2 separate regions of the Homo sapiens genome follow, and region 2 is linked to region 1. The links are contacts of gene promoters, found by promoter capture Hi-C in human tissues and cell types (Jung and others, 2019). All regions are on one chromosome and are shown on one strand. The core of a region is centred on a gene start or on the middle of the fragment in contact, and the rest is flanking DNA. Distances in the headings are between cores, read along the strand shown. Region 1 holds the start of TUBGCP6 (tubulin gamma complex component 6). Region 2 holds the start of PPP6R2 (protein phosphatase 6 regulatory subunit 2).

What was found. Contacts are between HindIII fragments. The study calls those that stand out against the background at their distance.
Region 2: the fragment with the promoter of PPP6R2 here is called in contact with the fragment with the promoter of TUBGCP6 in region 1 in 2 of the 25 tissues and cell types used here (lymphoblastoid cells and small bowel).

Annotation. Positions count from the first base shown.
Region 1 is chr22:50,243,464-50,246,719 of GRCh38, reverse strand. TUBGCP6 (tubulin gamma complex component 6) reads left to right here and starts at 1,697. Exons shown (of 25, transcript NM_020461.4): 1 at 1,697-3,001. The coding sequence starts at 2,261. It overlaps HDAC10 (histone deacetylase 10), which reads left to right. Exons shown (of 20, transcript NM_032019.6): 16 at 1-41; 17 at 344-422; 18 at 628-810; 19 at 893-1,045; 20 at 1,190-1,537. The coding sequence ends at 1,213. RefSeq lists a silencer at 1,325-1,394 and enhancers at 1,865-1,914, 2,325-2,604, 2,178-3,108. The HindIII fragment of the contact is 41,268 bases long and covers 1-3,256 here.
Region 2 is chr22:50,342,032-50,345,287 of GRCh38, reverse strand. PPP6R2 (protein phosphatase 6 regulatory subunit 2) reads right to left here and starts at 1,961. Exons shown (of 24, transcript NM_001242898.2): 1 at 1,738-1,961. RefSeq lists silencers at 1,701-1,780, 1,791-2,070, 2,341-2,510 and an enhancer at 2,607-3,253. The HindIII fragment of the contact is 17,181 bases long and covers 1-3,256 here.

The DNA of each region.
Region 1 (3,256 bases), core at 448-2,947:
CTGGGACAGCTGGACCGGCCTCCAGACCTCGCCCATGACGGGTAGGACTCTCAGGTCTTGCATATGTCCAGCCATGCATGTGGACGGGCATGTGATGGACGTGTGCCTGGGCCCCAGGGTGACGGGTGGGTGGGGCACTGTGTGGTACTGAATGGAGCCTTCCTCAGCTGGGGTGTGGGAGAAGGGCTGCTGGAGGCAATGCCAGGTGGGTCTCCAGCACAGAGGCTCAGCAGTCACAGCACCCCTGCCCATGGCCCCGTGAATGCTCTTCCACCTCTGCCTCTGCGGTTTGGGCTCAGGAGGGTGAGCAGGGCCTTACACTTATGCACCTGTGTCCTGGAAGGAGGAGTCTGTGGCTGAACATCAGGGGCAAGGAGGCGGCTGCCCTATCCATGTTCCATGTCTCCACGCCACTGCCAGTGGTGAGTGACCATGCCACGCGGCAAGGCAGGTGCTGGGGAGCCCATGGATGTGTACAGCTGCTGTTTGCTGGCATTGTCATGATAGCAGGCCTCTGGTCCTTCCTGTCTCCCTGCTCCTACTCCAGGGGCCCTGAGATTGGGAGGTTGGGAGGCCAGAGCCAGCAGGTGTCCGTAGATGAGGAGCTGGGCTCTGCTGTCCCCACAGATGACCGGTGGTTTCCTGAGCTGCATCTTGGGCTTGGTGCTGCCCCTGGCCTATGGCTTCCAGCCTGACCTGGTGCTGGTGGCGCTGGGGCCTGGCCATGGCCTGCAGGGCCCCCACGCTGCACTCCTGGCTGCAATGCTTCGGGGGCTGGCAGGGGGCCGAGTCCTGGCCCTCCTGGAGGAGGTAAGCTGGGCAGGGTGGAGGTGCTGCGGGGTGGGACGAGGGAAAGGACCAGTGACTGCTTCCGTCTTCGCCCCTGGTCCAGAACTCCACACCCCAGCTAGCAGGGATCCTGGCCCGGGTGCTGAATGGAGAGGCACCTCCTAGCCTAGGCCCTTCCTCTGTGGCCTCCCCAGAGGACGTCCAGGCCCTGATGTACCTGAGAGGGCAGCTGGAGCCTCAGTGGAAGATGTTGCAGGTGAGGCTGACTGCGGAGGCATGGCCCTGCCCTGGGGCCTGGCTCTGCCGCACAGATCGGTGGGGAGGGCAGGGCAGGGGAGTGCCCTGAACCAGCTCCAGCGCCGGAGGCCAACTGCGCGCCTCTTCTCGGCTCCTCCTGTAGTGCCATCCTCACCTGGTGGCTTGAAATCGGCCAAGGTGGGAGCATTTACACCGCAGAAATGACACCGCACGCCAGCGCCCCGCGGCCGCGATCCGGACCCCAAGCCCACGGCTCCCTCGACTCTGGGGCACGGAACCCCGCCCACTCCCAATCCCCGCGCCCCGCCCTCTCCCACCCGTGCTTCCCCCGCTCCACCCCTCACCTCACCTCGCCCCCGCCCCACCCATCGCGCCCCGGCCCGTCCCATCGAGGCCCATGCAACCCACGCTCGGTCCCGTTCCGGCCCCTGCGCCCCGCTGCGCTTCGCTCCCCGCCCTTGCGCCGTTAGTAAACATCGCTCAAACGAAACGCTGGCTCTGCCTCCTTTACTGAGCACGCTCGGCCTCGGTCTCTCACCCGCGGTGCCGGACTCAGGCCGGAAGTATGCCGCGGCCCAGGCCTCACCAACTTCACGCGCTGCCGGCGTTCCCGTGACGTATTTCCGGCGCGCCCGCCCTAGTGCTCTTCACACTGGCGCGGCTGTGACGCGACGGAGGCGGCGAGAGCGGCAGCCGTGGGCACTTTCCACGGGTGAGGCCTGGAGAACGGGTGGACGTGCAGGCCAGAACCCGGGACCCACCCGGCTGAGCCCCCAGACTCTCCGCTGCCCACGACCCTCGGAGTGGCACCCTCTCCTGGCCGTCTCCTCTCGTGGGTCCCGAAGAACGGGTGCAAAGCCGAGTTCGTCCGCTGTACTGCGCGGGCGCGCGTTTCGTTCTTCGGTTTTGCCACGGTTCTGTGACTCCCTAAAGGTTGAGGGCTACTGAATTAGAAGAAACGCCGAGCTGGCTTCTGGTGGGCTGCCGGGCGCCGGGCAGCGTGCTTGGACTGGGGAGGGCAGGGCGTGTTTACTCTGAGTAGAGCAACCGCAAGACCTCCTTTAAAAAATACCAGTTCTGAGCTTCGGCATTGGAGAGGCCGCCTGTCATTCAGCCTCTTCGGACCCTCTCTCACTCCCTGTCTTCCGGAGCGTGAGTGAAGCCCGGGTGAGGTGTTTTCCCACACGCCGGGGGCCCGGAGCTGAGAAGGGGCATGGCCAGCATCACGCAGCTGTTCGACGACCTGTGTGAGGCCCTCCTGCCGGCTGCCAAGACTCACCTGGGCCAGCGCAGTGTGAACCGGAAGAGGGCAAAGCGGAGCCTCAAGAAGGTGGCCTACAATGCTCTTTTCACAAATCTTTTTCAAGATGAGACTCAACAGCTGCAGCCTGACATGTCAAAACTACCAGCGAGAAACAAGATCCTCATGTTGTCCTTTGACTTGAGAGTGGGTGGCCTGGGCCCCAAGGCCGACCGTTTGGAGGAGCTTGTGGAGGAGCTGGAAGCAGCCCCTTGCTGTCCGCTTTTGGAGGTGGGGTCTGTTTTGGACCTCCTGGTTCAGCTGGCAGGGAGTGGTCCCCCTCAAGTTCTGCCGAGAAAACGAGACTACTTCCTTAACAACAAGCATGTGGGGAGAAACGTTCCGTACAGCGGCTATGATTGCGACGACCTGAGTGTGTTTGAGATGGACGTTCAGTCTCTGATCTCCAGAGAAGAGTGTTTGTGTCACAGCATGATCCAGGAAACACTTCAGGTTATGGAGGCTGCTCCAGGCACTGGCCTGCCCACCGTCGGGCTCTTCTCATTTGGTGACCCTTGTGGTGACAGGTTCGAGAGAGACACCCGGGTCTCGCTCTTCGGGGCCCTTGTGCACAGCCGCACTTATGACATGGACGTCCGACTGGGCCTGCCCCCCGTGCCAGACAATGCGGACCTCTCTGGGCTGGCTATTAAGGTAGAATGTTTAGTTTTTCCTCTTTCATCTCTCTCGGGGTTTGGAAAATGCTTCCTGTGACCTTTCTTCTTCTTCTTCTTCTTCTTTTTTTTTTTTTTTTTGAGACAGTGTCTCACTCTGTCACCCAGGCTGGAGTGCAGTGGCGCGATCTTGGCTCACCTTAACCTCCACTTTCTGGGCTCAAGCAATTCTCGTACCTCAGCCTCCCGAGTAGCTGAAATTACAGGCACCTGCCACCACGCCCGGCTTAATTTT
Region 2 (3,256 bases), core at 712-3,211, 98 kb before region 1:
CTGGGGGAAACTGACTGGAGGAGGCACTGACTGGGGGGGAACTGACTGGAGGGGGCACTGACTGGGGGAACTGACTGGAGGGGGCACTGACTTGGGGGGGAACTGACTGGAGGGGGCACTGACTGGGGGGAATTGACTGGAGGGGGCACTGACTGGGGGGCACTGACTGGGGGGAAACTGACTGGGGGGGCACTGACTGGGGGGAACTGACTGGAGGGGGCACTGACTGGGGGAAACTGACTGGAGGAGGCACTGACTGGGGGAAACTGACTGGAGGAGGCACTGACTGGGGGAAACTGACTGGAGGAGGCACTGACTGGGGGGAAACTGACTAGAGGGGGCACTGACTGGGGGGGAACTGACTAGAGGGGGCACTGACTGGGGGGGAACTGACTAGAGGGGGCACTGACTGGGGGGGAACTGACTAGAGGGGGCACTGACTGGGGGGGAACTGACTAGAGGGGGCACTGACTGGGGGGGGAACTGACTGGAGGGGGCACTGACTGGGGGAAACTGACTGGAGGAGGCACTGACTGGGGGAAACTGACTGGAGGAGGCACTGACTGGGGGGGAACTGACTGGAGGGGGCACTGACTAGGGGGAATTGACTGGAGGGGGCACTGACTGGGGGGCACTGACTGGGGGGAAACTGACTGGGGGGGCACTGACTGGGGGGAACTGACTGGAGGGGGCACTGACTGGGGGAAACTGACTGGAGGAGGCACTGACTGGGGGGAATTGACTGGAGGGGGCACTGACTGGGGGGAATTGACTGGAGGGGGCACTGACTGGGGGGCACTGACTGGGGGGAAACTGACTGGGGGGGCACTGACTGGGGGGGAACTGACTGGAGGGGGCACTGACTGGGGGAACTGACTGAAGGGGGCACTGACTGGGGGGGGAACTGACTGGAGGGGGCACTGACTGGGGGGAATTGACTGGAGGGGGCACTGACTGGGGGGCACTGACTGGGGGGCACTGACTGGGGGGAAACTGACTGGGGGGGCACTGACTGGGGGGAACTGACTGGAGGGGGCACTGACTGGGGGAAACTGACTGGAGGAGGCACTGACTGGGGGAAACTGACTGGAGGAGGCACTGACTGGGGGAAACTGACTGGAGGAGGCACTGACTGGGGGGAAACTGACTAGAGGGGGCACTGACTGGGGGGGAACTGACTAGAGGGGGCACTGACTGGGGGGGAACTGACTAGAGGGGGCACTGACTGGGGGGGGAACTGACTGGAGGGGGCACTGACTGGGGGAAACTGACTGGAGGAGGCACTGACTGGGGGAAACTGACTGGAGGAGGCACTGACTGGGGGGGAACTGACTGGAGGGGGCACTGACTGGGGGGAAACTGACTGGAGGGGGCACTGACTGGGGGGGAACTGACTGGAGGGGGCACTGACTGGGGGGCACTGACTGGGGGGAAACTGACTGGGGGGAAACTGACTGGGGGGGAACTGACTGGGGGGGAACTGACTGGAGGGGGCACTGACTGGGGGAACTGACTAGAGGGTGCACTAACTGGGGGGGAACTGACTGGAGGGGGCACTGACTGACTTGGGGGGGGCACTGACTCCGGGGGCACCGACTGGGGGGAACTGACTGGAGGGGGAACTGACTGACTGGGGGATAACTATCTGGAGGGGGCACTGACTGACTCGGGGAGAAGTGACTTGGGGGGCACTGGCAGACTGGGGGCCGGGTCTGAGCGGCGGGCGGCCGCACTCACCTGCCCTGCGGGCCGGGCGTCGCGGCAGCTCTTCGGAGGCCCGTGTGGAGGCCCGAGCGGAGGCCAGGGCGCTGGTGGAGGCAAAGCCCGGGCGGCCTCGGGCGGGCCGCACACACATGGGCCCGGCCGAGGGCGCAGCGCCTACGGACACCGGCACGGCCGGCCGGCGGCTCGAGACCGACTCGGGGCCGCGGGCGGCACTCCGATCGCTCCAAAATGGCGGCGGCGGCGCACGGGCACGCGCTCCGGGGGCGGGGTCTCCGCTTGGGGCGCGCACGCTCGCGGCCGGGGGCGGGGCCGCGCGGGTGGGCGGGGCCGGGACCTGGGCCGGCTCTCCGGGCCCCCTGGAGTGGGGCACTCGGTGAAACCCGCGTGGGAGCACGAGGGCTTGGGTGTGCTGACTGCTGCCTTGGAGTGGGTGGGGTAAGAGTGCGTCTTTCCCCTTTTACGTTTCCCTTTGAGGTATTGGCTAAAGTTTTGTGCAAGCATAGTTAATTTTGTTGTAGCCACAAAACAATCCTCGCGTGGCCCGACGCAGCATTTGAGAGACACACACCTGGGGCAGGGGTTTCCCCCGTGGCCCAGGAAAGGGCCTGTTCTCCCGGGCCTCCCTCCTGCCACAGGCCCCTCCCAGAGGCCGCGGGGCGTGGACGCCCCGAGCAGCAGGAGCGGGCTCAGCCCCGGGCGCCAGGCCTGGCCCCTCCCCGTCCCGCGTCCTGCCTGGACCCGGAGTGCCTGAGCCGCCTCCAGACAGTTTTCTCCAGGTGCGCTACGGGTTCTTGCACGGCGTTTTGCAAATTAAGTATGTGCCTATTTAACAAGTGCTGGAATTGTTTAATTCCATCAAAATAATTTCAAAAATGATTACTATTATTTCAGATGTTAGAGCGAGCCGTGGGTAAATGTTGGGAAAACATGGAGCACTTAAGGGATCTCTAAACGTTTTTTCCAGTTGTCAGTGTATTGCCCAGGATTCACCGATGCTCTCTGCGAAAGCGTATCTGGGCGGCTCAAATATTCGGTATTTCTCTTTTGCCAGCTGGCGCTGTTAGGCTTTGTCGGTAGAGGGCGCCAGAGACGTTGCAGGAGAAAAGGGCTTGGCCCTGCGGCTGGCGGCCCCGGGCTTCCCCGACGCCTGTCCCCTGCCCTGGTCAGCAGCACCCTCCTCGCCGGTTTTATAGCAGATGCCTCTGGCGAGCCTTTCCCCAGCAAAAGCTTTTCCCCTAGCATCCTAAGGGGCAGATTTCTGGCAGGTTCCGTTGAGGGAACTTCCAGGAAGTGGGGGTGAAAAAGCCTCAGCCTCACAACCTAGAGAAGAGACACCCTGCGTTCAGCAGGCTATGCCCTTCTCCTGCCCTCACCATGGTCTCCTTTGCAGGAGCGGGAGGTGCTGCTGAGTTGAGCTACGGAATGGGGACTGGGGCCAGGGGCACCAGATGCAGGAGATGCTCCTGCTGCCGTGAGCACGTGCAACTCTGCCTGATCTTGATACCCCTCCTGTGCTCAGCCAGTGCAACTG